6 separate regions of the Homo sapiens genome follow, and all the other regions are linked to region 5. Evidence: promoter capture Hi-C in 16 types of primary human blood cells and fetal thymus (Javierre and others, 2016). All regions are on one chromosome and are shown on one strand. The core of a region is centred on a gene start or on the middle of the fragment in contact, and the rest is flanking DNA. Distances in the headings are between cores, read along the strand shown.

Region 1 (3,618 bases), core at 1,091-3,590, 990 kb after region 5:
AAGGGAAATTCTAGGCACCCAGCTAACCCCTAGAAGTAAATGAGTAACTTGATAAGCAAGAAGGTAACAATAGCCTGAAACAACAGCCAAGGAAGTTAGAGTCACAAGAATGTTTGGTTCCCTATAGAAACTAAAGGTTATATCTTAACATATGTCCTTGAGTTGTATTTCAGAAAACCTGGACCCCCATCCAATTGATCCATTGGCACACAGACCTCAGAGAAGGGGGAGCCGAGGACAGAGCTCTGACTGCAGTTTTTGTTCTAAATTTCTTCCTGAGGGGCCTGGAGGAGGTCACGCCCAAAGGCCGGATCCAACACTCTTTTCTGCTAACTCCAAATCTTTAGACAAAGCTTCCTTTCCTTAACCAGGTGCAAATCAGAAAATCTTTCAATCTACCCATGATTTATAAGCTGCCTACTTTAAGATATCCCACCCTCAGCCAGGAGTGGTGGCTCACGCCTGTAATCCCAGCACTTTGGGAGGCCGAGGCAGGTGGATCACGAGGTCAGGAGATCAAGACCATCCTGGCTAACATGGTGAAACCCCGTCTCTACTAAATATACAAAAAATTAGCCAGGGGTGGTGACGGGAGCCTGTAATCCCAGCTACTCGGGAGGCTGAGGCAGGAGAATGGCATGAACCCAGGAGGCGGAGCTTGCAGTGAGTCGAGATTGCACCACTGCACTCCAGCCTGGGCGAGAGCGAGACTCTGTCTCAAAAAAAAAAAAAAAAAAGATACCCCACCCTTTCAGGCCAAACCAATACATAATCTCCATGTATGAGTTACGATTTTGCCTGTAACTTCGCTTTCCTGAAATTTAGCCCTGCCTTTAAAAACCCTTGCTTGCAAGCCACTGGGGAGGCCAGGTCTTAAGCATGAGCCGCCTGATTCTCCTTGCTTGGCACGCAGCAAATAAAGGCCCTCCTTTCTCCTGCGGCAAAACCTCAGCGTGGATATTTGGCCTTACTGTGCCAGATAAGCAGGCCACAGTTCGGTCCAGTAACAACCAGATCGTCAACCATTTCAAAGTCTGAGGTCCAGATTTTTATTTATTTATTTATATTTGAGACAGAGTATTGCTTCGTCACCCAGGCTGGAGTGCAATGACATGATAGAGCTCACTGCAGCCTTGACCTCTCAGGCTCAAGCGATCCTTCCACCTCAGCCTCCTGAGTACCTGAGACCACAGGCACATACCACCACACCCAGATAATTTTTTTTTTTAATTTTTTGCAGAGTTGGGATCTCCCTATGTTGCCCAGGCTAGTCTCGAATATTTAGGCTCAAGCAATCCTCCCATGAGGTCCAGATTTTTCTGAGACATCTCCCTATTTTTAAATGTTGGGAACTAAATGAAAAAACATTTTTAAATACTATACTGTATGGGGAGAAATAAAACACATGTGCTGGCCTGAAGGCACCTGCCTGGTGTCCCAAGAATAGACACAAAAACTCAAGAGTATTCTCCCCTTCCTAAGTCCAGAACATGCCCACGGCTCTGCAAAGCTCACAAATTACATTCAAGCCTCCTTCACCTCCTGTTTTTTGTCCTCAACCCCAATTCCAGCCTCCTCTGCAAAAGCCCTTTCATATCCACACAGGACAGCTCCAGATGTTCTAATGGCGTGATCACTACATGCCAGGTGCTCTGCTCAACACTTCACAGGTGCTTTCTCATAAGATCGTCCTCACCACTGCATGATGAGAGAGAGTCTGTTATTTTATGCCTTTTTGACAGGAGAGCAAACTGTCTTCGAAGGTTTGCTTGCGCAGGTTTGCTTCACTGAAAACTTGCCTTTTCAGTGATCAGGGCAGAATCGAAGCCCACTTCTCCTGGGATCCAAGCTCTGCTATCCAGGTGCCCTTCCCCTAAAGAACATCCAGCACCCCCTAGTCCCCAAGAGCACCCTCTTATCTCCACCTCCAGGCCTCTGCTCCTCCCTAAGTGGGCTTCCCCAGTTCTCTGTGCGTCCCAATCCTTCCTATCCCTTTGGCCTACCTGAAAGCCACTTCTGCAGGGAAGCCATTCCCAGTCTCCCCAACCCAGTGTGCTCCCCCATGGAGCATCTCTGTTTCTCTTGTGGCACTTCCTCCATCTTCCCCCATAGAATAACGTGAATTCATGTGTTCACTCACTTAAGATATTTGAACCTGATGTCTACTACATGCCAGGTGCTGCACCTGTGTTTGGAGAATAGAGGAGTGAACAGGGTCTCGGCCCTCTTCCAGTGGGATAGATAGACAAGAAAGAAATAAACAATTAAATAATTACAAATTGTGTTGAGTGATCTGAAAGAAATGAGCAGGATGAAGTGATTGAGAGGTAGGGCATGGACATGCTTGGAACTGCAGCCCAGAAGTCCTCTCTGGACATTGAGAAGAGACCTAAAGTCAAGACAAAGTTACTGTAAACATCCAGCAGGAGCGCACTCCAGGCAAAGGAAACAGCAATTGCAAGGATCCCGAGGCATGAACGAGTGTGGCGTGTGGTTCTAGAAACAAACTAAGGCAGACACCGCTAGAGCTGAGTTTCCTAAGGTTACAGTAAAGTGTGATGATGATGTCAGAGAGGTCACCAAGGGCCAGATCATGTCTGACCTAACAGGCCATATGAAAGAATTTGGATTTCCTTCCAAAGACCTAACTTTGAATAATCTTAAGTGTGATAAGAAGCCACTATTTTCCAACAGGGGAGGAACAGGATCTGACTGACATCTTTTAAAGGTCACTTTGACTGCTGAGTGCACAATGGATTGCAGGAGGGAGGGGGAAGGCAGGAGCAGTGCCTAGATGTCTTGCATAGTCCAGGAGAGAGAGGATATTGGCTTGGACTGGGTGGGAGTGGAATGGAGACGAGCAGATGGCTTCCGGATATACTCTGAAGGTAGAGCCAACAAACTCGTGGCTATTTTTGAGCTAAGTTATCTTATCCTCCCTTACTCATAAAAGCAGGAAACTTTTCCATTTCATTTGTGTAGCTCCCATGGCCTTGCACAAAGTAGGAACTTGATATATATTTATTGAACTAAATCGACAAGTTAAATTAAGTTGAAATCACATGGAATCAAATTTAATCAAATCAAATTAAATTGCACTGAAGTGAACTCAGAGTGTGAGGATGTGTTTCTGGGTTTTCAAAGAGGGTCCCCTAGTGCTGCTGGGGTCCCAACCTGGGGCACTTCCTTTGGCCAGCTCAGAAGCAGGTTCTCTACAGCCACTCCCTAGAGGGCAGATACACAGCTTTGGCCCAATTCCATGCTGGTGCAAAAGTGTAATTGTCCATCCAGACAGTCAATTGTAACAGTGGTTCAGATCATTAACTGGTGAACCACCTGAGTCTATGTCAGCAATTATGTAAATGTCCCTGCAATTAGATTTGCATTTATATTTGATCAAAATAGTTTCTATATCAGCTTTAAAAAAAGTAAAACTACATATGCATCTCCTCGTGTCTGCCCAAGGAGTGTTGAGTCAGTGGACCATCCGAACACAAGGACGCTGCTGCAGGCAAAGAGGTCTGTGTAACCCTGGATGTGTGAGTGTATGTGTGTGTAGATGTCTTCTAAGTTAAGTAAATAGCTGGAGACAGCTTTTTTCCTGCTCACAATGTTTTT
Region 2 (4,208 bases), core at 528-3,027, 900 kb after region 5:
CTCAAACAACTCAATAGAAAAAACAAATAATCTGATTTAAAAATGGGCAAATGAGCTGAATAGACTTCTATCAATAGAAGACATACAAATGGCCAACAGATGTGTTAAAAAATGCTCAACATCACTAATAGTCAGGTAAATGCAAACCAAAACCACTATGAGACATCATCTCACCCCAATTAGAATGGCCATTCTCAAAAACACAAACAAATAACAAATGCTGCTGAGGATACAGACAAAAAGGAACTCTTACACGGTGTTGGTGGGAATGTAAATTAGTTAGCACAGCTATTATGGAAATGGTATGCAGGGTCCTCACACACTAAAAATAGAACTATTATATGATCCAGCAGTCCTATTTCTAGGTGTATATCCAAAGGAAAGGAAATCAGTACGTCAAGGAGTTCTCTGCACTCCCATGTTTGTTACAGCACTGCTGACAGTGGCCAAGATATAGAATCGACCTAAGTGCCCATCAACAGGTGAATGAATAATGTGGTATATATACACAATGGAATACTATTCAGCCATAAAAATAATGAAATCCTGTCATTCATGGCAACACAGGTGAACCTTTATTCACGATGTTAAGTGAAACAAACCAGGAAAGACAAATGCTGCATATTCTCACTCCTTTGCGGAAGCCAAAAAAGTTGATCTCGTAAAAGTAGAGAGTAGAATACTGGTTACCAGAGGTTGGGAAGTGGCAGAGGTGTAGCTAAACATTGGTTAACAGATACAAAATTACAGCTAGATAGGAGAAAAAGTTCTAGTGTTCTATAGCGTTGTCGTGTGACTATAGTTAACAACAGTTTATTGTTTTCTTTCAAATAACTACAAGAGCAGATTCTGAATGTTCCAAACACAAAAAAGATTAATATTTGAAGTGACAGAGATACTAATTACCTTGATTTGATCATTACATATTGTATACATGTATTGAAATGTCATACTCTACCCCATAAATATATACAATTATTATGTATCAGTTAAAAAATAATAATAAAAGAGGGAAAAGATTGCTGTCCTTCAACCTAAAAATACTTCTGGGCATGGGACCCCATGGTTTGTGGACAGACCAGGTTGTCCTGGTGCCAATTAGACATCCATGGAATACACAGTGTGTGATTTACTTTCCCTTTTCAACTAAGAGTGAATGAAATAAAATTTGGGGCTGGTGAGCCACCCTTTTTGTAATCCTCTGAGAGAAAATGTGAGAAAACGTCTGGCCTGGAAATAACCATTTTTAAAGCCCTTTTTAAAAGCCCACTCTTGGAAAAATAGTGATGTCAACCAGCCACTTCCTAGCCTTCTATGCTTTTTCCCACCATTTTAATGAAGAGGGCTTCCCAGACATCATGAATTTTGCATGAAATCCTCATTTCTCTTTAAAGAGATTTAGTGCCAAAACCTTCTGTGACAACCAAAACCCATGTTTGAGTTATATTGTTAATGTCAATATAACTCACAGTGATGTGTTGTGTTGTGGAGACAGTGGGCAAAATAGCCATAAATTCCATCCTAAGTGTACCATCTCCCCAACGTTTCTGGCATTGTCTGCTGGACTGTCATGACATCTCTTCCTACAGACCCCCAGGAAGGGCAACATCACTTCCTGGCTCCGAAGCCTCAACCTGATGCTTTAATAATAGATCCTGATTGTCCTATCAAAACTACAATCCCTTCGACATTCATTTAATCTCTTCCTTTTGAGGTCATTTCCTAAAACATGAAAATCACTGCTCAGTTTTGTCCTTTTCCTTCCTATTTTTGAAGATGTCATTGTTTCTGCTGAGACCAGCACCAAGGGCGCTAGATGATAAAGGCAGCTTGCAGGGAAGGTTTCCTTGGGCACAGGGCCCTAGATTCTCACCCTGAATTGGATTTCAGGTAGTCCCACTCGGAGAAGTTGTTAGCTCACTTCCCGGCTGCCTCTTCATTTCTTTGCAATGCCAACAAACCTACTGCAAACACAATGAAAATTCTTCCCTCGTTTGAATCTGTGCTTACAATCTCTAATTAAGTAATAACTTTCATAGCACTCTGCTTCTCCAAGCCTGAACGGTATTTCCATTACCTCCTCTACTGAAGTCAAAATTACAGACCTGTCATTTTTGGATTTTTCTAAAAAACGCAAGCATTAAATTATACCTACATTCACCCATTAGTAATTTCTCTTCGTGGTGGGTGTTTAAATCTATTATAATGACTCTACTATCTCTTCAACTTTCTATCCCTCTCAGAATATTGATGAATTCTACCTCATTCTGGACTGCCTGTCTAATTTTGTCTTTTAATTTCTTGATGAAACATGAATTTGATTTTATAAAGTTCTTTTTTCTTTCTCTTTGGGAAAGGAAAAGAGAAACATCTTTCTGATGTGGAGTTACTATTCCTCTTTAAGGGTGAAAAACTGATAGAAGAGGAATTACCTTTTAGGTTTCAAATTGTCTTTGAGCAGAAGTGACTCTTCAGTCGCAGACAGATTGGGTCCCTTGTTCTGGGGTGTGTAATCATTTTTTGCCACTCACTCACACTTTGATGAAAATACAAGTTTTGTGTGCTTTATATGTATTGATTCTTTTAATCCTCATAGCATCCTTACAAGGTAGTGTATTAGGCAGTTCTTGCATTGCTATAAAGATATACCTGAGCCTGAGTAATTTGTAAAGAAAAGAGGTTTAATTGGCTCGTGATTCCGCGGCTTTACAAGAAGCATGGTGCTGGCATCTGCTCAGCTTCTGGGGGGGCTTCAGGAAAGTTACAATCATGGCAGAAGGTGAAGGGGGAGCAGGCATGTCACATGGCCAAGCAGGAGCAAGAAAGAGAGTGGGGAGAGGTGCCACACACTTTCTTTTCTTTTTTTTTTTTAGATGGAGTCTCAGTCTGTTGTCCAGGCTAGAGTGCGATGGCACCATCCCGGCTCACTGCAACCTCTGCATCCTGGGTTCAAATGATTCTCCTCCCTCCTGCCTCAGCCTCCCGGGTAGCTGAGATTACAGGTGCCCACCACCATGCCCAGCTAATTTTTATATTTTTAGTAGAGACGGGGTTTCACCATGTTGGCCAGGCTGGCCTCAAACTCCTGATCTCAGGTGATCCACCTGCCTCGGCCTCCCAAAGTACTGGGATTACAGGTGTGAGCTACCGTGCCCGGCCTTTTTTTTTTTTTAGACAGAGTCTCACACTGTCACCCAGGCTGGAGTCCAGTGGTGTGATCTCTGCTCACTGAAAACTCCACCTCCTGGATTCAAACAATTCTCCTGTCTCAGCCTCCCGAGTAGCTTGGATTGTAGGTGTGCGCCACCACATCCAGCCATGCCACACACTTTCAAACCACCAGATCACGTGTGAATTCAGAGCTAAAGCTCACTTATTACTGAGGGATGGCCCAAGCCTTTCATGAGGACTCTGGCCCCATAATCCAAACACCTCCCACAAGGCTCCACCTCCAATATTGAGGATTACATTTCAACATGCGATTTGGGTGGAGACAAATATCCGAACTATATCAGATAGGTTCTATTATTGTTCCCACTTTATAGATGAGGACACTGAGACAGAGAGGCTAATGAACCTTCTGAAGATTGCACAGTGAGCCAGTGTCAGATGCAGATTGAACCCAAGTTGTAGTTTGGCTCCAAAGTCCACATCTGTCAAGCTTTTTTGAGTCACAAGTAACAGAAGCTCAACTCAAAATAGGCAGAAAGGAGGATTTGTTTCCAAACCTTGAAAAGAACGGGAAGTCTCTCTGAAACTATTGAAGCTGGAAACTTGAGTGACCTCGGGACTTTATCTGTGATCTCTTTGTGTCCCCCAGAACCCTGAGGCTGGCTTCTTCCTGAAGGCTGAAGTCAGGGTCACCAATTACTCTTTAGCTGACCCTCCCAGCCTTACATTGAAAATGAGGCTCTTGCTCCCAAGCTCCAATTAACAAAGAAATAGAAAAAGAAAGAGAAAAACAGGAAAGAACAGGTTGCATGCCCAGGGGCTGGATCAACCACTATGGCCAGGAGGATGAAGTATTAGGATTGGTTCAGCCTGGGTTAATTGCCTGTCCTTAAATAAGTTATTGTGGAGGAGATAAAGTAGCCTCCAGCAAATCACATTTTAAAGTCATGAAATTTAAATAATAATAATAATAATAATAATAATTATTATTATTATTATTATTCCCTAAAAGATGGAGGATGGCACAGCTTTGCCAC
Region 3 (4,116 bases), core at 622-3,121, 970 kb after region 5:
CACGGTTCATCCAAGGTCAAATCAACCTCTGCTGCTCTTGATTACAAGCCTGAAAGAAGTAGCTGTGTTCGGTCATTGTACACTTGATTGGGCGAGTTGGGAGGGTGCCCAAAGGCTGAATGATAACAGTTCTAACAGCTTGGACAGCTCCAGCCCTCATGCCTCCCTCCCACTAACTGCCCAGCTCCCTGTCTTATCAGCTGATTTTTCAGATGGGGAAACTGAGACACCATAAGCCTGTTCCAGTCCCATAGCCACAGCACACGCTCCAGCTCCAGGAGCTCCCGGGGAAGCCCCCTCTGGTCAGCAAGCCCCCAGTTCACTCCAGAGATATGAGGCAGATTTGAGCAGCTTTGTTCTGCAAGCCGTCACCAAATCTGCACCTGGGTTGGATTTCAGTGGTTTCCTTAGAAGAGCGATCATCCACCCCAACCACTAAGATGCTTGCCTGTGGGCCTGGGAGTAAGAGCAGAGGGGATAGGCTCTGGAAAAGCCCCGGGCCGCAGTTCTGGGGCTCTAAGTTCCATTCTCCCTGACAAGGCACAGCAGGACCAAGATCTTGTGCCACCTGGTGGCTACCTGCCTCTTCCAACTTGCAAAAAGTTGGATAAAATGACACGGGAAGGTGGAATCTAAGGAGATGGACCTGGTGTGAAGATGGCTCCTGCCTGAGGTCATACTGCGGCTCAGTCAGTTTCAAAGACCGAACCAGGACCAAGGTTATGATTCCCCTCATGAGGACTCCTGGAGGGACAGCCATGACCCACATCTGTCAGGGATGAGGCATCCCCCTCCAGATCCCCAGAGCCCTTGGAGGACAGCCCTCCCTGCTGCAGGGTGTCTCCAGGGATATTCCAGGTGCAGAGCTAGGGCTGCCAGGTTTAGCATCCAGACTGGGCCAGAGCCCATTCTGTCACCTCATGAGGGTCTTGAAGAAATCCAACCTTGTCCTCCATCCTAACTCAGAAGAAGAACTAGGCCAGAAGAAGAACTAGGAGCTCTTGCCCACACCAGCCCAGCATGATGCTTCCTGGAGGTGCTCAGGCCCACTCAGAGGAAATCCAGACAATCCCCATGCGCAAAATTCGGATGCCTGGAGCTTATTCCGGGACCAGAACTCTAGCCCTGGGCAAAGGTGAGCTCAGGCTAGGGGCAGCATCACAGCAATGGGAAAGCTTGGTTTTACAGGGTCTTCGAGGAACACCCTCTTTAGGCTGGTCCTCCTGGCCACTACTGGAGGGTCCTAAAATGCTGGCTGCAGCATCCTATAGCCATGGCAACTTTATTTGCTGCTATTGCCCCTCCCTCTCCACCCCAGCTTGACTTACCTTTGCAAAGACCTGCTTCCTGCCCCCAGACCAGGCCCTTATGTAACATGTTCTCTGCAGGTAGCAGGAGAGTAAAGAAGACGGGACACTTGCTCTCCTGCTCCAATAGGCCTTTCAACATAAGTCAATCCCAAGGAATCTCTCGTCGGGCAAGGAGACACCCACGTGCACGCATGAACACACACGTGCACACACATGCACTGCCCCCCCTTCCCCCACACATCTCTGGGGATTCCCTACAAAGAAGAGAGAGGGAGATGGTCTGGAAGCAGGGAAACCTGGCCTGGGAGGAGGAGGTTCTTGGATTCCCATCAGGCAATCAGGACGCCTTATGTGAGACCAATGCAGTGAGGGCTGTTCCCACTCTGCCAAATTCTTAAATTCACTGAGGTCAAGCCCAGTCGCTTTCTTCAGTGAGATTCATGCTCCTTAGCCTGAGACAGTGGCCCTGAGCAGAGAGAGCTTCCCCAAAGCCTCAGCCTTAGTCCCAAAGTCCTGGCTTCAAGCCCCTTTCCCCTGGGGTGTGATACCTGGGGCATCTGGGCCCCTCATCCAAGAGGTCTACCACCCCCTGACACCCCCAGTCAAGGTATCCCTGGCCTCAGGCTTGCCCAGAATTGCTGGAGTAAGGGTGGGGCCGTCATTGTTTTCCCTGGCTCCCCATCTTACCAGGCGCCCAGAACTTGGGGAAGGGTGCCCCAATCCACCCACAGGCAGGACTCAATTGCTTCTAGAGAATCTACCCTCTGGTGCAGGAAAAGTCTTGGCCCCACTGAGGCCATGCATGGAGTGGAAGAGGTGGGCCTCCTGGGAGCCAGGAAGGCTGGGGAATCATGAGTGTCTCTTGCATCCCTGGCTCCCTCCCCACATTCCCAGCTGAAGACAGGCAGATATAGGCAGAAGAGGAGGCTCTGTGAGCATCAGATCCCCAGCCACACCCATCCCGTGACCTCCTGGATCCTGCATGTCCCATCACCTGTAGCTGGTGGGTCACCAGGACGACTGTCTTTCCCCTGAGCGTCTTCTTAATGCACTCCTCAAAGACGTGCTTCCCCACGTGGGCGTCCACGGCCGACAGGGGGTCGTCCAGCAGGTAGAGCTGACGGTCGGAGTAGACAGCGCGGGCCAGGCTAATCCTCTGCCTCTGCCCCCCAGAGAGGTTGAGGCCCCGCTCCCCAATCTGTGGACAGGGACAATGCTACTGCCCATTGTCAGCCCACCCTGAAGTTCTTGGGCAATGGAAGCTTCCTGGAGCTTCTCAGGACTCAGGGGAAAGACGTACACACTGATCCTCGCCATATCCAAGTTCCTCCGCCCCTTACAGGGCCCCCGGTCACACGAGACTCTGTGGTGAGTGGAAGTGCTCCACTTGTCTACCTCTCCAGGAAGCCCAGTGGGCAGCGGCAACGAGGGCAAAGCTCTTTCCCATGAGGATTGAGGGGTGCCCATCTCACAAGACCCCAGCCCAATGCAGATCCCACAGGGAGGGGCTACGTCATTTTTATCACCAAAGGGAATTGTGTGAGCAGAGAGCTGGGGAGAATGCAGCAGTGAACCAGAGGGAAACGTGGCTGGGTGCAGATGGAAAAGCGAGTTCCCTATTTTGTTTACTTGTAGAGCAACTATCCCATCCCTAGGCAACTCTAAGCACTGTGGAGAGATAAGCCTTGACTTCCTGGTTCATCATCACCACCCTAAGGCCTGGCACCATGCTGGGCACAGAATAGGTGCTCAGTAAATATTTATGGAAAGGATGATTGCTTGCTGTAGGTGATTCTATCCAATGGAACCCAAAGTGAACCCCAGGTGTTCAGCCAGATGTTGAGTTAGGCACGGGGCGGGACACACAAGCTGGACAAGAGAAGTCCCCTCTCCCTGGGGAGCTCCACGGTGGGCAGGGTAGTTATGTACATAATAGCAGCAGCAAGCAGAATTTCACAAGCGCCTGCTGAAGAGCATCAGTAGAGTACTTTGTGGCAAATTATTCAGGTGGTGGGACTTGGGAAAGCCTTCCTTGAGGAGGCAGATTTTGGGTTGAAACTCAAAGGATAGTGATGTCACAGGAGCAGAGACTTAGAGGCTAGGAAGTGAGTGGACACTTTGGCAGGCAGGTAGGAGCATGGCCTGGAAGGGTGAACCAGGGCTGCAGTGTGGGAGGTCTCAGATGCAGGCCAGGAAGGCTTCACGGCCACTTCCTTGGGGATGCAGACTGAGGGCACCAGTAGAGAAAGACACCCCAAACTGCCTTTCCTCAGAAAGCTTTAGCCTTCTGATCTCCTCTGGGGCTCCTGGGCAAGGTGAGGAAGATTGTGCAGAGAGCACAAGAAGGGTGGGGACCCGAGATGGCAAGGTGACTCCCCTGGGTCTCTTGGGGTGGCAGGCTCAGCCCAGGATGGGGTGGCAGGCTCAGCCCGTTTGGACAAGCACCCCAGGGGGCAATGTTTAGAGGTGACCCCCATACTCCTGGCCTGGGCAGAGCCAGTGAGGCAAGAAGGGGCCCTGGTTTGCAGGACAGAGCCAGCCCTTGGGATGAGGAAGCAGTTTTCACCAGAAACCCTTCCTGAGACGACAGGCAGATTGGGAGTAGCCCCAAGAAGTGACTACACTGTGCCAAACACCAGTAAGCTTGGTGCCACGTCCACTATGACATCCAGCAAGTATAGATCCAGAGGAAGAATTCAGAATGGGTGGAACCTGAGCTTTGCCCACACGTCCTTGGGGCATCTGGATGTGGAACAGGGGCTTGCTGGCCTCAGCCCTTTGGACCTGAGCAAATGTACTGTGTGCA
Region 4 (3,992 bases), core at 828-3,327, 940 kb after region 5:
CAGGAGAATAGCTTGAACCTGGGAGGCAGAGGTGGCAGTGAGTCCATATTGTGCCACTGCACTCCAGCCTGGGTGACAGAGCAAGACTCCATTTAAAAAAAAAAAAAGCTATGTTAAAAAAGGAACCTTGCAAGATGGGCTACCACAATTTCTCTTTCTAAAAAATGCAAAGCCAATAAGCACATGAAAAGATGCACAACACAACTCATTAGGGAAATGCAAATCAAAACCACAATGAGATACCACTTCACACTTATTAGGATGGCCTTAAAAAGGAATTAAATTCTGATACACGCTGCAACATGGATGAACCTTAACTGAAATAAGCCAGACACAAAAGGACAAATACTATATGATTCCATTATATAAGGCACCTCATGCAGACAGAAAGTAGAATAGTGGTTGCAGGGTTTTACGGGGACAGGGGAATGGGGAGTTTAGTGGGCACAGAGTTTCAGTTTGGAAAAATGAAAAATATCTGGAGACGGATGATGGTGATGGCTGCTCAGCAATGTGAATGTACTTAATGCCACTGAAATATACACTTAAAATTGTTAAAATGGTAAATGTTTTGTTATTTCCATTTTACCATAATAAAAAAAATTATTTAGAGCAATGCAGAACAATTGCCACAAACCACGCTGAGGCTTCTTTGAGTGTGGCTCTTGCCAGGTGAAGGAGGCAGGTTTGTGCTAAAACAATAGAAACTGACTTGGTCTGGTCCTTGAATGCTGGTCTCGGCAGAGGGAAAGCTCTCAGCTGAAGCCAGGAACGTGCACATCATGAAGTTAGGCAGGGCTTCTCCATGGAAATTGACATTTATTTGAAGACGTTAATGCTTGATTTGGCCTTACCCAGAAGTGACCTTCTACACAGGGCCAAAAGAAAAGTGATTTCTTTGATCGTCCATCTGACCCAAAACTGAACTCCTGCCTTTTCCAATTCATTTTGAATCATGCTGTACTGGCCAAAGTGATTCCAGCTCTTAGCAAAGAACATTTCATATTTTACCAACAATTCTGGGCCAATTTCAGATCTGTTCACTTGAACAGCAAGAATAAAATCTGTGAGTTCTCTCTGGGTCTTTCTGATCTTAAGCAGTAGGGAGGGAAGGCAAGGGGAATATTTATAATTTGCGTGAAGCTTGGGGGACAGATGAGAATCGGAAACTCCTCCCTGCTTCAATGTGAACTGGCTCACTTGGGCCACATCTGAGTGGGAGGGAGACGGTGTAACTCGCAGTGCGGGGACTGGGATTCTTTCTTCCTCAGGTGAGGATCAGCATCTTCCCAGGCAAGAGGAGAATATGACTCTTCTGTGTTGTTTACAACACTTTGGGCTGCAAGTAACAGCAAGACCAACTAGAGTTGGATTAAACAACAAGGAAAATGTATCCTCTATAACAGGACAAGAAGAAGGAGCTATACAAAAGAATAAGATCATGTCCTTTACAGCAACATGGATGCAGCTGTAGGCCATCATTCTAAGTGAATTAACGCAGAAACAAAACCAAGTATCACATGTTCTTGTAAGTGGGAGCTAAACATTGGGTGCACATGGACATAAAGATGGGAACAACAGACACTGGCGACTCCAAACGTGGGGAGGGAACAAGGATTGAAAAACTGACTATTGGGTATGTTTTCACTACTTGGGTAATGGGCACACCAGGAGCGCAAATCTCAGCATCACACAATATACCCATGTAACAAAACTGCATGCATACCCCCTGAATCTACAATTAAAAAAAAAAAAAAGACAAGAGGTAGGGTGACTTCAGGGTTGGTATATCAGCAGCTCCGTGCAGTAAGCAAGTCCCTGTGCTCTGTCCTTCTGTCTTGCTTCCTTCATGCTCACACGAGGCTGCTGACTCCCCAGATAGACCAGGCAACGGGAGGGTATGCCTTCCAGACCCCATCCCGACAACCAACAGACTTCCCCCTCATATGAATCATATCCCACGCCAATGCCCCAAATCGGAAGACAGCAACCTTTCTCTGTAAAGGAACAAGATAGTAAATATTTTGGGCTTTGAGGATATACATTTGGTCACAATCACTCCACTCTGCTGTTGGAATGTGAAAGCTGTCATAGGTAATGAATTAACAAATGAGCATGGTTGCATTCTGATGAAATTTTATTTATAAAAACAGGTGGGCTGGCTGGATTTGGCCTATGGGCTAATTTGTCCACACTTTTTCTAGACCAGGTAGCCTCAAAATTAGCTCCAGGATACAAGTGTTGATGAAACAAGTCACAGGCAATTTGTTACCAATTTATAACCACATGCTTGTAAGTGGCTTATTCCATTCTCTGTTGGCATCTACTATTCAAAAGGTCCTAATTCATAACATTGAGCATATGATCACCCAAAAGGCAGATGATATCAGAGCACAGCAAAGCTGGGGCACTGAAATAAATGAGAATAAAAATTTCAAGGCCAGGCGCAGTGGCTCACGCCTGTAATCCCAGCACTTTGGGAGGCCGAGGTGGGCGGATCACTTGAGGTCAAGAGTTCAAGACCAGCATGGCCAACATGGTAAAACCCCGTCTCCACTAAAAATACAAAAATTAGCCAGGCATGGTGGTGCACACCTGTAATTCCAGCTACTCAGGAGGCTGAGGCAGGAGAATCTCTTGAACCTGGGAGGTGGAGGTTGCAGTGAGCCGAGATTGCGCCATTGCATTCCAGCCTGGGTGACATCTCAAAACAACAGCAACAACAACAACAAAAACATTTAATTACATTTATAGGGCATTCTAATCCCCTCTGAATGCCCAAATTCCAATAGAAACTGTTTTCATATCTCCTTTTTTGTTTCTCCTATATTGAAAGTCAAGAATGAAAAAGACCTTAGCACTTTGTCCAAATTTTACAGATGGAATGGAGGTTCAGAGAAGGCAAGCTACTTTCCCCATATCACACAGCCACTCAGTGGCAGAATGAAGATCCCAACCCAGGCTATAGTAGGTTGTTGTATTGTTCAAAATATTTGCTGCCCCTCCAAAGAGGAAGCTTATACAACTCCTGCTGGAATAAGCTTGGTCCTTGTGCCTTATGGTGGCCCTCCCTGTGGAGTAGGGTATATACCACCACCACTACCCACACTGTTGAACTCAGGAGCAGCCAGGCAATTTGTTTTGCCCATGAAATGTGGATGAAAGTAGCATGTATCACTTCCGATTGCCATGTCTGCCTGCCCTCTACCACAAAACATGATGTTCCTGGCAGAGACTGCTCTGCTCCGCTGGGTCACAGAGTGAAGAGGATAAGCACAGTCACAGCTCACCTGTGATGGATGTGTCACATAAGCAAGAAATAAGCCAGTGTGGTCTGGGGTCTTTTGTTACTGCAGCATAACTGAGTCTACCCAGACCAGTACTCAGGCTTTACAACACAGGCACTGCTCTTTCTCACCAGGAGGATTGCATTTCTAGCAGTGTTGCATGGAATTTAACAGCACATGTTTTATTTTTATTGTATGTATTTCTGTAGTGACGAGGTCTCACTTTGTTGCCCAGGCTGGTCTCATACTCCTGGAGGAGCACACTTTTTAGAGTCAACCTGCCTGGATTCAAATCTCACCAGTGGCTAACCTTGGTCAAGTTACTTTCTTGATGCCTCAGTTTCCTCATCAGTAATATAAGGATAACACTTGTACTGTGTTAGTCTATTCAGGCTGATATAATAAAATATCTTAGACTGAGTAATTTATAAACAACAGAAATTTATTGCTCACAGTTCTGGACGCTGGGAAATCCATGGTCGAGGTGCCAACAGATTTGGTGTTGAGTGAGGGCCCATTCCTCACAGATGATGCCTTCTATGTGTCCTCACATGGAGGAAGGGGTGAACAAGCTTCCCCAAGTCTCTTTTATAAGAGAGCCAATCCTATTCATGAGGTCTCCACCCTCATGACCTAATTAATCACCTCCTAAAGGCCCTACCTCTATACTGTCACACTGAGGATTATGTTTCAACAGGAGGATTT
Region 5 (3,875 bases), core at 826-3,325:
TGTGCACCCACGGGAAAGGCAAAGGCAGAAACGCTGCAAATCCCTTCACCATTGGAGGAGGCGCTACCAGCCCCTACCCTATCCAGCTCGATTTTATCAAGTTCTGCAGGTAAAGCGGTGTGACAGATCTACGCGATTTCATCCGGGGGTGCTCTCGGATGCACGGTCAGTAGCATGCTGACAACCTTACCGTAGTGAGGGCGCAATCCGACAACGGCAGAAAATTCAGATAAGCAACACGATCAGAAATCCTAGTGTGCATACGGTTTATCACGAAAGAGTAAAAACATTCCTTTCCCAGGAATGACTGTAAAAATTAGGAGTTAGAGATATGAAAGCCACAGGATGAATTTCAGAGTTGTTTTCAATTGTAATAAAGAAATCACTACGGATTTACGGTTTGTGAAATATTCATCAGCTAGAAAGTCCTAGGTTACCTTAGTACAAGCTGTAGATACGTTTACAGTGGGGTAGTTAAACGTTTCGAATTACTGAAATCTCAATTACGAATTTAGGAATATGTGGAGAGTAGACAATGTGTCCAATTAAAATCAAAAGCAAAATTACACTGAACTTTCTAATAAAACAAATTTGAAAAAAGTGCTGTTAGGGAGCAGGAAAAAAGTCACTCTACAAATATTAAGATACAGTGCTGAGTTATACATAACACCGTTAATAATGCCTCAGCCGTACCCTCGAAATTTTTAAAAAAAGAACATGTTACGACATTACAAACACGTCAGCTTTCAATTTAAATCAGCAGGGGGAAAAAGGGAAGTCCTTTACTGAGTGGTGGTGCTGTTTTCCCTCTGGAAATTGAAAAGACGATTTATTCAGTCCGAGTTTCAGGAGCAACTTTGTATCCCAATCCTAATTATCTATGTATATAAATTTTCATCTAAATTACCACCTCCTGGGAAATGCAAAGCCGGTGGAGTAGGTTTTAGAGCTCTGTGCTCTGGACAAGCCAACTGTTTTAATTCCCAGTACAACAAATTAGTAAGAACCGAACACCAGCGGCGGGGAATTCTGAGACCTCTGGCGGAGCGCGAGGAGCGCCGCGTCCCGGGAAGCACCCGAGCAGCAGCGCTCCCCGGGGGCCGGGACAAGCCGGGTCCGCGGCGCCCGCGCGCCGCCCCCGGAGCCCGCAGTGGTGCCGCAGCCTCCGTGGCCGCAGCAGGTGGGACCCGGCTGGCCCAGCAGGCCCCGTTCCCCGCCGCGAGGTGCAGGCGCCGCGGGGCTATTCGAAAACCACTGCACGACGTCACGGCCGCGGCTTTTATTGTTCTCGTGGAATTACTTTTTGCCATCACATCTGGAGAAAGAGCGGCCTCCGCTCCACGACAGGAATCTCACAACTTTGCAAAGGGATGCGCGGAATTCTACGGAAGCGGCGCGAGGGCGCAGCCCGGAGGGCCCTGCTGGGCCCAGGGGCCTCCTGGCCGCCTTCCCGACCCGATCCCTCTTCCCACACGCGCCCCGCGAACGTCGGCCGGACTCGCAGGGGTCGGAAGCGGCGCGCCCGGAGAGCCGGCGGAGCCGGGCAGGGCTCGCGCCCCGCGGTCCGCTCCGAGTAGCCGCGAGCCCCGCCAGACAAAGAGGCGCGTCGGGTCCCGGGCGCGGGTAAGGGACGCAGAGGCGCGGGCAGGGCGGCGCGCCAGCCTCGGCCCGCAGGGGGCGCCGTCCGTGGCCCCAGCCCCGGTCCTTACCTTTGAGGACCGAGCAGAGCCGCTCCAGGGCCATGTTCCCGAGCTGCCCGGCGCTTCGCGAAGGGCTGAGGTAGCGGCGGCGGTGGCTCGGCGCTCACGGCTCGGCGCGGCGGCGACGGCCCCACTCCGTCCCCATCGCCGGCCAGCAGCTGCCTCCCCGCTCCCCTGAGGAGAGCTCAGGTCCTGCGGCCCGCCATGCCCGAGCCCCACAGTGGGCTCCCGCGCGGCCCGAGCACCCCGACGGGCGCCGCCTCCTGCTCCGCGGCGCCCCGTCCCATCGACCGCCCGAGGGCCGAGGAGTGCGGACGCGCGGCGCGGGACCGGCAGGCAGCTCCGCCCGCGGCCCCGGCGCGGGATCCACTGAAGTGGCGGGCGCGGGGCGCCCAGGCTCATTTAAGGAGGGAGCGCGAGCGCCGCGTGCCGGCTGCGCCGCCTGTGCGCATGTGCCCGCCCCGCCCCGCCCCGCGCCGCGCCTCGCGCGCCCGCCGCGGCCTCGCGCCGTGGGACGGCGTCGCTCCCCGCCGGCTGCCGTTAGGGCTGGGAGCCGGCTGGGCGCGGGGGTAGTGAGGGTGCCTCTCGCCGTGGCTGCGCGGCGGCCTCGTCCGAGAGGCCGGCGCCGGGGCAGTGACCGGCCCGTGCCCAGCCGCCGCGCAGGGCGCCCGGGGCAGCTGGCCGAGCCCTCGATGCCTCCCGTCTGACGGAGGCGCCCGGGAAGCGCCGCCCACCTCGGCCCCGCACCCTCGCCGGCCTGCCGGGTCTCCGCCAGCCCTAGCAGACAGAGAGGGGCGCCGGTCCCTAGTCCCCCAGACCTCCATTCAAGGTCAAAACTTTGCCCAGCTCAGCCTTGCTCGACCCTGGGCAGGGAAGCGCGGACATCGGCAGAGGGAGCCCGAGGCTCTCCGTGCCCTTCGCGCCGGTGAGTTCCCGACCCGCGGCGCTGCCGGCGTTTCCCTAGCGCCCGCCAGGTTGACAGGCACTTTAGTACCAACTCCTCAGACTCCCCCTCATGAAGTAGGTTTTAGGGGATTGGAAAGTCGAGGCCAGAGAGGTGAAGCCCTTCGTCCAGAGCCGCGTAGCGAATGAGCGGCAGGGCTGTGCACCTCCCCCGGGGCTGCCCTCCTAGCAGCTAACCACTACGCTGGGCAGCTTCGCCAGCTGATGGGAGTCTCCAGGTCTGCCAACAACTGCCTGGCTGTTGGTGGTATTCATGATCCTGCTTTATTTTCTCCACAGCGGTTATCACACTGATATGACCTTCCTCATTTATTTATTTGTTCATCCTTTATATCTCCCTCACCCTCACACCATTAAAATATCAGCTGCTTGCAGGCAGGCCGACTGCATTCATTTTTTTCACTCCACACATACGTATTGGGTGTTAATTATGTGCAGAAGACAATGATTGGTGCTGGAGATAACAACCGTGATCAAGGCCTTACCATAATAGAATATTTATGCCTGTCTCTGCGTGTAGTAGGAACTCTGTAAACGTTTGTCTAACCAATTGTAGCTAAAGACAATGTCAGGCAACTGAAACATTTTTCAGGTGTTAAGCTCTTCTCTCTCACTTTGTATTCCTTCAAGAAAGGTACAAAAGCATAAATAATTCATGAGATTTACAAAGGAAAAACATACTTAACACCAATTAATATCGAGGTGTTTCACCCTTTGCCATGTGCTGTGAATGGGGGCATAAAAGATGGGTAAGTTTGGGTTCCTAAAGGTAACCACCTACTACAGTTAAGATCGCACACGAGAACCAATTAGGAAATAAAACATTTAAGAACTTTTTCCCACGGATATGAAAAGGTGGCTCACGCATGTAATCCCAGAACTTTGGGAGGCTGAGGCAGGCGGGTCACCCGAGGTCAGAGGTTTAAGACCAGCCTGGCCGACATGGTGAAACCCCATCTCTACTAAAAATACAAAAATTAGCTGGGCGTGGTGGCACGCGCCTGTAGTCCCAGCTACTAGGGAGGCTGAGGCAGGAGAATCGCTTGAACTGCACTCCAGCTTGGGCAACAGCGAGACTCCGTCTCAAATAATAATAATGATGTAGCATATTAGTAGAATAGGAGAGTAAGAAGACAATATTAAGTATAGGTTACAGACAACAGTGAACCAAAAAAATTTGAGAGGAAGGGGCTCTCAAATTAACATAATAGT
Region 6 (4,164 bases), core at 1,024-3,523, 920 kb after region 5:
ACAAAACATAAACAAATGGGCATGGCTGTGTTCCAATAAAACTTTATTTACAAAAAAAAAAAAAAAAAACAAGTTGTAGGAAGGCGGAGGGCTTTGGCCTGCTGGGAAAGACATGTTCTCTTTCTGCTGAGATTTTTCTTTTTCTTCTTCTTCTTCTTCTTTTTTTTTTTTTTTTTTTTTTTTTTTTGAGACTGAGTCTTGCTCTGTCGCCCAGACTCCAGTACGGTGGCACGATCTTGGCTCACTGCAGCCTCCGCCTCCCGGGTTCAAGGGATTCTTCCGCCTCAGCCTCCTGAGTAGCTGGGATTACAGGTGTGTGCCACCACGCCCAGCTAATTTTTGTATTTTTAGTAGAGACGGGGTTTCACCATGTTTGGCCGGGCTGGTCTCAAACTCCTGGTCTCAACTGATCCACCCGCCTCGGACTCCCACAGTGCTGGGATTATAGGCGTAAGCCACCCGTGCTTGGCCTCTGCTGAGATTTCTAAACTGACAGAATGAAGCTCAGGGGCCATCTTTGCTGCGACACAGGGAGAAGGTGCCTGAGAATTAAGCCATCCTGGGAAGGCAGAGTGGAGAATCCTCATGGCATTCATGACATTTTTTTTTTTTTTTTTTTTTGAGACGGAGTCTCGCTCTGTCACCCAGCCTAGAGTGCAGTGGCGCAATCTCGGCTCACGGCAAGCTCCGCCTCCTGGGTTCAGGCCATTCTCCTGCCTCAGCCTCCCGAGTAGCTGGGACTACAGGCGCCCGGCGCCACGCCCGGCTAGTTTTTTGTATTTTTACTGGATACGGGGTTTCACCGTGTTAGCCAGGATGGTCTCGATCTCCTGACCTCGTGATCCGCCCGCCTCGACCTCCCAAAGTGCTGGGATTACAGGCGTGATCCACCGCGCCCGGCCTCATGACATCTTTTGACCCCCTGGATTCAACCAGGTAATCATATATAAAACGATGTATACTTTCGTCTGTACCTTTGGTTATTTTGAATCAATAAACATTTCTCCCTCCCCGCCCCCCCCCTTTTTTTTTGGCTTAAGCCGGTTGATTTGGGGTTCTGTCACTTATAACCAGAGTCCTGACTGATACCAAACCCAAACCCATTCTTGAACTCCTTTTCTCCTTTCTCTATGTGTTTTCCCTGGGCAATATCATCCACCTGCCTGAGTTTCTGCTGTCACCTCTGTGTAGATAACCCTGACATATTTTTTGTTTTATTTTTGAAATAATAAAACAGGATCTTTAGAGTAGAATTTTTTTTTTTTTTTTTTTTTTTTTTTTAGTATTTATTGATCATTCTTGGGTGTTTCTCAGAGAGGGGGATGTGGCAGGGTCATAGGATAATAGTGGAGAGAAGGTCAGCAGATAAACACGTGAACAAAGGTCTCTGGTTTTCCTAGGCAGAGGTCCCTGCGGCCTTCCGCAGTGTTTGTGTCCCTGGGTACTTGAGATTAGGGAGTGGTGATGACTCTTAAGGAGCATGCTGCCTTCAAGCATCTGTTTAACAAAGCACATCTTGCACCGCCCTTAATCCATTTAACCCTGAGTGGACAAAGCACATGTTTCAGAGAGCAGGGGGTTGGGGGTAAGGTTATAGATTAACAGCATCCCAAGGCAGAAGAATTTTTCTTAGTACAGAACAAAATGGAGTCTCCTATGTCTACTTCTTTTTACACAGACACAGTAACAATCTGATCTCTCTTTCTTTTCCCCACATTTCCCCCTTTTCTATTGGACAAAACCGCCATCGTCATCATGGCTCGTTCTCAATGGTCGCTGTCTCTTCAGAGCTGTTGTATACACTTCCCAGACGGGGCAGCCGGGCAGAGGGGCTCCTCACCTCCCAGAAGGGGTGGCGGCCAGGCAGAGGCGCTCCTCACCTCCCAGACGATGGGCAGACGGGCAGAGGCGCTCCTCACCTCCCAGACGATGGGCAGACGGGCAGAGGTGCTCCCCACCTCCCAGACAGGGCGGCCGGGCAGAGGGGCTCCTCACCTCCCAGATGGGGTGGCAGCCGGGCAGAGGCACCCCTCACCTCCCAGACGGGGCGGCCGGGCAGAGGCACCCACTTCCCAGATGGGGCGGCTGGGCAGAGGCACTTCTCACATCCCAGACGATGGGCGGCCAGGCAGAGGCTTCCTCACTTCCCAGACGGGGCGGCCGGCCAGAGGTGCCCCTCACTTCCCAGACGGGGTGGCCGGGCAGAGGCGCTCCTCACATCCCAGACGGGGCGGCCGGGCAGAGGTGCTCTTCACATCCCAGACGATGGGCGGCCGGGCAGAGGTGCTCTTCACATCCCAGACGATGGGCGGCCAGGCAGAGACGCTCCCCTCTTCCCAGGTGCGGTGGTGGCCGGGCAGAGGCTGTAATCTTAGCACTTTGGGAGGCCAAGGCAGGCGGCTTTCCACCAACCAGAGGCAAAATGTGCATCTTTCCAGTTTGACAATCCTTCACTGAGGAAACGATAAGGCAGGTACCACAGAGGACAACTAGGCGCTCAGCCCACTTATGCAGCTGAGTCTTTCCCTTGCGTACATTATTGATGCCAAACAATAGGATTCGATCCAAATGATCCATGCGGCAATGTTTTTCACCATAAAATCGAATCATACAGCCGAGGTCAGGATTTGTAGCCTCCTCCTGTATGTGCACAGGATCATCAAATCCCAGCCTGGATAAGTAATCATAAATGATCTGAAGAGGTCGTTCAGTAGGTTCCAGTCTCCTGTAATCCCAGCACTTCAGGAGGCCAAGGAGGGAGGATCACTTGAGGTCAGGGGTTCAAGACCAGCCTGGGTAACATAGTGAAACCGCGTCTCTTCAGGACCCGGATCTCTCCCGGCCGGCGGCTCGCGGGCGCTTCAGGCGGCTCTGGGGGCTTCAGCGGTCCCGCGGGCCCCGGCTCCACCTCCCCCCATCGGCGACCCAGGCTGCACCTAGAGTAGAATTTTTATCATCCTTTTTTTTTTTTTTTTTAGACAGAATCTCACTCTGTCACCCAGGCTGGAGTGCCATGGTACAATCTTGGCTCACTGCAACCTCTGCCTCTTAGGCTCAAGTAATCCTCCCACCTCAGCCTCCCGAGTAGCTGGGACCACAGGCCTGTGCAACCATGCCCGGCTAATTTTTTTTTTTTTTTTTTGTATTTTTAGTAGAAATGAGGTTTCGCCATGTTGCCAATGCTGGTCTCGAACTCCTGAGTGCAAGCAATCCACCTGCCTCAGCCTCCCAATGTGCTGGGATTACAGGCATGAGCCAATATGCCCGGCCTTCTGTTTTATTTTAAATTTAGAGTTGGAGTCTCACTATGTTGCCCAAGCTGGTCTCAAAATCCTGGGCTCAAGCAATCCTCCCACCTTAGCCTTCGGAGTAGCTGGGCTTTTATAGATGTGAGCCACTGTGCCCAGTCCTGACATCTTTATTTCAGGCTCTAACTTTAATCCTGAGCCCCTATTTCCTCTGGCCTACTAGACATTTTGCCTAAGATATCCAGGAAGTATAACATGTCTAAAACTCAACTCAATACTCTGGTTTCTCTTCAGATGGTATAAATCTTTCACCTTTTAAAACTCAACTTATTACCTAACCTCTTTCCCTTCAAATGTCTTTTCCTGTGTTTCATAATAATACTAAAAATAATACCCAAGAGGCACTGTGACTCATGCCTGTAATCCCAGCAATTTGGGAGCCTGAAATGGGTGGATTTCTTGAGCCCAGCGGTTCGAGACCAGCCTGGGCAACATAGTGAGAATCCACCCTACCAAAAAAAAAAAAAAAAATACAAAAGTTAGCCAGATGTGGTGGTACACACCTGTAGTCCTAGCTACTCAGTAGGCTGAGGTGGGAGGAATACCTGGGTCAGAGAGATGGAGGCTGCAGTGAGCTGAAATCACACCACTGCCCTCCAGCCTGGGTGACAGAGTGAAAACCTGTCTAAAAAATAAATGAATAAATAAATAAATTAATAATAATATCAACTGAGCTATTATTACTATGGGCAAGGTCTTGTGGTAGGCACCATATTATTTCAAAGGTCCTAATTAGCATGCAAGGCAGATATTATAAGTCCCCTTGTACAGATGAGTAAACTGAATCTGAGAGCCTAAGCTAATTGGATCAGCAGGTGACTAAGCCGTGGTTTAACTTCAGGCCAGCTGTCCCCAG

What was found. Contacts are between HindIII fragments. The CHiCAGO score rates a contact against its expected background, and 5 or more counts as called.
Region 1: a contact is called between a fragment that was not itself captured here and the fragment with the promoter of NETO2 in region 5, in 8 of 17 cell types (megakaryocytes, M2 macrophages, naive CD4 T cells and 5 more). The highest score is 10.5, in megakaryocytes.
Region 2: a contact is called between a fragment that was not itself captured here and the fragment with the promoter of NETO2 in region 5, in 1 of 17 cell types (endothelial precursors). The highest score is 5.6, in endothelial precursors.
Region 3: a fragment that was not itself captured here is called in contact with the fragment with the promoter of NETO2 in region 5 in 17 of 17 cell types (fetal thymus, M2 macrophages, megakaryocytes and 14 more); the score reaches 28.2 in fetal thymus.
Region 4: a fragment that was not itself captured here is called in contact with the fragment with the promoter of NETO2 in region 5 in 1 of 17 cell types (M2 macrophages); the score reaches 10.4 in M2 macrophages.
Region 6: a contact is called between a fragment that was not itself captured here and the fragment with the promoter of NETO2 in region 5, in 5 of 17 cell types (M2 macrophages, M0 macrophages, endothelial precursors and 2 more). The highest score is 12.7, in M2 macrophages.

Annotation. Positions count from the first base shown.
Region 1 is chr16:48,134,331-48,137,948 of GRCh38, forward strand. All of the region lies in intron 8 of ABCC12 (ATP binding cassette subfamily C member 12), which reads right to left. Among named protein-coding and RNA genes, the nearest start is that of ABCC12, 20 kb to the right of the region's middle. The HindIII fragment of the contact is 3,978 bases long and covers 352-3,618 here.
Region 2 is chr16:48,037,669-48,041,876 of GRCh38, forward strand. All of the region lies in intron 1 of LOC124903686 (a long non-coding RNA gene), which reads right to left. Among named protein-coding and RNA genes, the nearest start is that of LINC02134, 74 kb to the left of the region's middle. The HindIII fragment of the contact is 3,764 bases long and covers 1-3,659 here.
Region 3 is chr16:48,113,111-48,117,226 of GRCh38, forward strand. ABCC12 (ATP binding cassette subfamily C member 12) reads right to left here. Exons shown (of 31, transcript NM_001393797.1): 15 at 2,305-2,508. Among named protein-coding and RNA genes, the nearest start is that of ABCC12, 41 kb to the right of the region's middle. RefSeq lists an enhancer at 3,835-4,116. The HindIII fragment of the contact is 1,397 bases long and covers 1,174-2,570 here.
Region 4 is chr16:48,077,174-48,081,165 of GRCh38, forward strand. It overlaps ABCC12 (ATP binding cassette subfamily C member 12), which reads right to left. Exons shown (of 31, transcript NM_001393797.1): 31 at 3,709-3,992. Among named protein-coding and RNA genes, the nearest start is that of ABCC12, 77 kb to the right of the region's middle. The HindIII fragment of the contact is 1,873 bases long and covers 1,142-3,014 here.
Region 5 is chr16:47,141,870-47,145,744 of GRCh38, forward strand. It overlaps NETO2 (neuropilin and tolloid like 2), which reads right to left and starts at 2,076. Exons shown (of 9, transcript NM_018092.5): 1 at 1,710-2,076. The coding sequence starts at 1,743. It overlaps ITFG1-AS1 (ITFG1 antisense RNA 1), which reads left to right and starts at 2,199. Exons shown (of 4, transcript NR_110904.1): 1 at 2,199-2,625. RefSeq lists silencers at 80-169, 180-229, 1,057-1,206, 1,377-2,216, 2,277-2,606. The HindIII fragment of the contact is 8,905 bases long and covers 1-3,875 here.
Region 6 is chr16:48,057,269-48,061,432 of GRCh38, forward strand. No RefSeq gene overlaps it. Among named protein-coding and RNA genes, the nearest start is that of LINC02134, 94 kb to the left of the region's middle. The HindIII fragment of the contact is 7,460 bases long and covers 1-4,164 here.